Regions from separate parts of the Homo sapiens genome. Here region 2 is linked to region 1. The links are contacts of gene promoters, found by promoter capture Hi-C in human tissues and cell types (Jung and others, 2019). All regions are on one chromosome and are shown on one strand. Each heading gives the region's core, a stretch centred on a gene start or on the middle of the fragment in contact. The rest is flanking DNA. Distances are from core to core; before and after follow the strand shown. Region 1 holds the start of GNG7 (G protein subunit gamma 7). Region 2 holds the start of TLE6 (TLE family member 6, subcortical maternal complex member).

The links. The method cuts DNA at HindIII sites, captures the fragments that hold promoters and counts their contacts. A contact is called where the count stands out against the background at its distance.
Region 2: the fragment with the promoter of TLE6 here is called in contact with the fragment with the promoter of GNG7 in region 1 in 2 of the 25 tissues and cell types used here (adrenal gland and dorsolateral prefrontal cortex).

What each region holds. Positions count from the first base shown.
Region 1 is chr19:2,701,421-2,704,134 of GRCh38, forward strand. It overlaps GNG7 (G protein subunit gamma 7), which reads right to left and starts at 1,274. Exons shown (of 5, transcript NM_052847.3): 1 at 1,226-1,274. RefSeq lists a silencer at 1,170-1,559. The HindIII fragment of the contact is 6,266 bases long and covers 1-2,714 here.
Region 2 is chr19:2,976,275-2,978,974 of GRCh38, forward strand. It overlaps TLE6 (TLE family member 6, subcortical maternal complex member), which reads left to right and starts at 1,290. Exons shown (of 17, transcript NM_001143986.2): 1 at 1,290-1,336; 2 at 1,924-2,010. The coding sequence starts at 1,960. RefSeq lists a silencer at 1,012-1,321. The HindIII fragment of the contact is 31,192 bases long and covers 1-2,700 here.

The DNA.
Region 1 (2,714 bases), core at 24-2,523:
CTGAACCCCCTTCCACCCCACACACTCACAAGCTCCCCATTTCCCCTGATAGCCCCCAGACCCTTTCTGGAACAAGCCTGACCCCCACCTGTATGCTCCAGCCACTCCCTGGCTCACCCCAGCTTTGTCCTTCTGCCCCTTTTCAGCTAACCCTAACCCCTGGGCCGTCAATCACACCCCCCCATCTTCACCAACCCCATTCCTCAGTCCTCTCCCCAGACAACCTCAACATCTAATTCCCTCTGCAGCCCCCTCTCCAATGAACCCCACTTCAAACTCCATCCCCAGCCCCCTCTCCAGCTCCCTGCAAACCTCAACCCCACTCCCAGCTCCCTCTTCAAAGAAGCTGCACCCTTGACTCAACCCCTGTTCCCCGCTCCAATTAACCTCAACCCCCAACACCATCCCCAGCGTCCTCCCCAGCTAACTCAGATTTCCAATTCCACTTCCAGCCCCCTCCCCAGCTAACCTCGACCTACAATTCCAGCCCCCTCCCCAGCTAGCTTGGACCTCCAATCCCACTCCAAGCCCCCTCGGCAGCTAACCTCGACCTGCGACTCTAGCCCCCTCCCCAGCAAACTCAAGACCTCCAATTCCACCACCAGCCCCTTCCTAGCTAACCTGGACCTGCAATTCCAGACCCCTCCCCAGCCAACTCAGACCTCCAATCCCGCTCCAAGCTCCCTCCCCAGCTAACCTCGACCTGCAACTCCAGTCCCCTCCCCAGATAACTCAGACCTCCAGTCTCACCCCCAGCCCCCTCCTCAGCTAACTCAGACCTCCAATCCCACCTCCAGCCCCCTCCCCAGCTAACCTGGACCTGCAACTCCAGCCTCCTCCCCAGCTGGCCCTGATTTCTAAGTGGAGTCCCAATGCCCAGACCCAATCCTTCCCCAGCTAACCTCGATCTGCACCCCCTGCCCCGTCCCCAGCTAACCTCGACCTGCAACTCCCGCCCCCTCCCCAGCTAGCCCTGAGCCCCAAGTGCAGTCCCAATCCCCAACCCCAGCCCCTCCCCAGCTAACTTCGACCCCCTAAGCGCAGCCCCGTCCCCAATTCCAACCCCAGCCTCCAGTTGCAGCCCGGGTCCCCAGACCCAGCCCCCCTCCTCAGCCGACTCCGACCCCCAACTCGGTCCGCAGCCGAATCCGAGCTGTCCCAGTCCCCTCTCCGGGACGCCGGCCGCGCCCTCACTTCCCCTGGCCCGGTTCGCGGGCGCCCTTACCTGCGCTCGGGCCCCGCGGCCGCCTCAGCCCCGCCGCGCAGCCGAACCCTCCGCCCCGGCCCGCGAGCGCTCGCTCCCCTCTGCGGGGGCGGGGCCGACACTCGGGGGGCGGGCCCTGGCGTCCCGGCAAGGCCAATCGCGAGCCCCGGCTGCGGGAGGCCGGAGCGGGGGCGGGGCGCGGGGCAGGCAGCGGGGTAGGCTGCGCCCAGGAGAGTGGGGCGGGGCTCCGGGCGCGGGCGGGGCCGGGGGCGGGGCGAAGAGCGGCTTTCCAGGGTGACTTCGTGACGTCAGGAAGGCGCGAGTAGTTTCGCGAGTTCGAATCCCGCGCTAGGTGAGCTGGTTCGAATCCTGCATGCCAGCTCCGGGGGCTCATTTGCTGGGGAAGAATGTCAGTGATCATAACTGCTGCACCGCTTTCTTGAAGACTTTATAGGCTCCCTCTCGTGGGACCCTCCGCATAAGGCCAGAAGGCGAGATTACTATCCACATTTTACAGAGGTGGAAACTGGGTCTCAGAAAGGTGAAACCTAAGGTCATTTGCCCAAGCCTGTCTCATCATTTCCAAGATTTCTCAGTTTCCTAACTCATGGCCCTGGATCCACAAATTCCTGAGCCCCAACACAGATGGAATGAACCAGAATCCTATAGGGAACTGGACCCTGAAATCTGTGTTTTGTTTAGTTTTCGTTTTGTTTTTGAGACAGGGTATCACTCAATTGCCGTGGCTGGACTGCAGTGGTGCAGTCATAGCTCACTGCAGCTTTGAAGTCCCAGGCTCAAGCAGTCCTTCCACCTCAGCCTTCCGGGTAGCTGGGGCCACAGGCACGCACCACCACATCCAGCTAATTTTTGTATTATTAGTAGAGACAGGGTTTCACCGTTTTGGCCAGGCTGGTCTCCAACTCCTGACCTCAGGTGATCCACCTTTCTTGGCCTCCCATAGTGCTGGGATTACAGGCGTGAGCCACCGTGCCTGGCCCTGGCTAATTTTTTTTTGTTAGAGATGGGGTCTTGCTATGTTGCCCAAACTGGTCTTGAACTCCTGGGCTCAAGTGATTCTCCTGCCTCTGCCTCCCAAAATGCTTGGATTACAGGCCTGGAATCTTCATTTTCCACAAGCTCCCTTGGGAATATTGGAAAACACTTTGTATGTCTCCAAAAGCAGTACACAGCCCTGGAAGGAAGATGGAGCCACCATATTCTGTGACCTCAGGGATTTCATCAGGCGCTGACACTGTGTGTCCTTGCCGCCCCACCTGAGCCCTGGGATTGGAGCTGCTGGCCAAAATCCAAGATAAACTTCCCCAGGGTTCCTGTCATCCCTGCAAGAACCTCCCTGCTCATCCTCTGGACTCCAGTGGCCTGCCCTGCAGGGCACAGAGAAACCTCCATCTCCCTGCTTGCCCTCCTCCAGGCTCTCCCCAGCTGGCATCCCCCAAGAGGAATGACTGTCTAGATAGAGCTTGGGAAGGGCACGGTGGCTCACGAC
Region 2 (2,700 bases), core at 40-2,539, 270 kb after region 1:
CTTGCTCTGTTGCTCAGACTGGAGTGCAGTGGCACGATCATAGCTCACTCCAGACTCAACCTCCTGGGCTTACGCCATCCTCCTGCCTCAGCCTCCCCAGTAGCTGAGACTACAGGTGCATGACCACCACACTTGGCTAATTTTTAAATTTTTTGTAGAGACGCGGTGTCACTGTGTTGCCCAGGCTGGTCTCCAACTCCTGGCCTCAAGCAATCCTCCCACCTCAGCCTTCCAAAATGCTGGGATCACAGGTGTGAGCCATGGTGACTTGGCTTCATATTTTGAATAGGCCAAAACAAAACTCCGAAATCCCCTTACTCCTATCCCCACGACCCCACACAGCAGGTTTCTCTCGCTCTGCAGCAACCCACTTACCTCTCGGAAATCATCCCAGGCCTGTTCGGAGTGCACGCAGCCCCGTTAGCCTCCCTGGCTGCTCCTGTAACCAGCCCAGCTCTGCCTGAGAGGTTCCGCTATTCCCTCCGTCTGGAATACCCACCACTCTCTCCCACCCCGCGCTTGCATCCGGCAATACTGTATCAGCCTCAGGGCCTCTGCTGTCCCGCTTTCTGCTCTCAGAGCCTTTGTCACTGGGCTGGAAGAGCAGTTGGGAAAATTCGGTGATAAATGCATAGCCCGGGGCTGGGACCATCAAGGGGACCCAGTAAGTTGGCTCCAGAAAGAGGACTTGAAGCTTCGTTTGCATTGCACGTTATTTAATATTGAGGAAAATGTAATTAGCCCGTATCTAAGAATTGGGGTGACAGCGCTAAAGATTGAACCCACCCACCTCCCACTCCTCACCTCCAGCCATAAGCCACTTCCGGACAAGGCTAAAAATGCGTAAAACAATGCAACTACTCGCCACCTATCCCTGCCCAAGTTCCAGCCTCTGAGCCTCAAGCCCCACGCCCTCCTAAATATCCCCGCCCCCGCTGGGACCCCAAATTGCCTATAGCTCTGCAAGTCCGCCCTTCCCGGCAGCGGGACCGAAAGGGTAAAGCAGAGGCTCCCGGCTCGCTGAGTGACAGCATGGCCGGCGGCCGGGGAGAGCCGACCAATCAGGGAGGGCGTACGCGACCCACGTGCGTAAACGGCCTCGCTATTGGCCGGCGCCGCCAGAGGCCTGCCCCCCCCGGAGCCCGAACCCACGTGCAGCTACTGCGCCTTCATTGATCTGCTTCGCGGTCCAGGTGGCGGCTGGGTGGGGCCTGGGCGGGACGGGGCGGGGACAAGGCGGGACGAGGCGGGGCCCGATGGGTCAAATGGCCCCCGGTGGGGGAAGGAGGAGTTTCCTCTTGGCCTGAACTTGGCTGACCTCCGCAGCTTCCGCCCGGTGAGGGACGTGAGTTGCCAGGCGTGTTCTAGGGGGCTGGGGGGACTCCAGGATTCCCGGCCGGGGAAGGGGCTGCAGGGGCGTGGAGGGGCAGGACTGAGGCAAGGAAGAAGCTGGGTGCTGCAGCAGGGATGGAGGTGGAGAGAGGTCGTTTCTTCTGTCTGATGAATTCCGCCTAATGCACCTGGCTAACTCCTAGTCATCCTTCAAAACCCCTTTCTAGTGATCTCCCTGCGCTTTAGGAAATTGTCTCAAAACTAAGGTTGAGCTTTGGCGACCTTCCCTGGGCTCCCCCGTCCCTGACTGCCCCCAGCAGGGAGTGTATGTGCACTATCCACCCCAGCCTCCTAGGGTGAGGCCTGGGAGGCAAGGCTCAGTTCTTTCTGGGTCCCCGCCCCCATGAATCTGGGCAGCTGGAGGCATTGATAAGTGAGGACAGGACCTAGGGAACGCATGGGAGAACCGCAGGATTGGGTCCCTGGAGACTTACCAAACTGGGAGGTGCGGGTGGGGTAACGGGTGCCTTGCTTCCCTGGCACTGCCTTATTTTCTGTCCCTCAAGACCTGCCGTCTCCTTGTTGTTTTAGACTCTGGCTAAAGTCTTGGAGGCTACTGCCTTGAAGATGACCTCTAGGGACCAGCCCAGACCCAAGGGCCCCCCGAAAAGCACTTCGGTGAGGAGGGCATGTGGTGGGATCAGCCCTCAAGGGAAACCCGGGCCCAATGTGGTTCTGCCCCTTTTCCACCTGTGACCTGGGCTGGCCCCGCCCAGGCCTCGCAGCTGAAGACAATACTGGTCGCTGCTACACTCAAGACAGGTGCCAAGGAGCCGTGTTTTTTAAAAAAAATTAAGTGTAGGCTGGACACTGTGGCTCACAACTGTAATCTCAACATTTTTGGAGGCCGAGGCAGGAGGACCACTTGAGCCCAGGAGTTTGAAACCAGCCTGGACAACGTAGTGAGACCCTGTCTCTGTAAAAAATAAAACTAGAAGAATCAGCTGGGCCTAGTGACGTGGGCCTGTAGTTGCAGCTACTTGGGAGGCTGAGGCAGAGGGTTGGCTTGAGCCCAAGGAGTTTGAGGCTGCAGTGAACTATGATGGTGCCACTGCACTCCATCCTTGGTGACAGTGAGATCCCATCTAAAAAAAAATGTAGCATCTAATCACATATGTGATAAAAACACAGGAACACATCATGTATTTGGTTGATGTTTTACAAGCAATCCCCGCTCCCTGCACTTTGCGTCCCAGAGATGACCATTTGTAAATTTAGGCTCTCAGGGCTGAGCAGACGTTTTTTTTTGTAAAGGAGTCAGATGAGGGATATTTTGTTTTGAGACTTTATGATTTTATTATGTTTGAG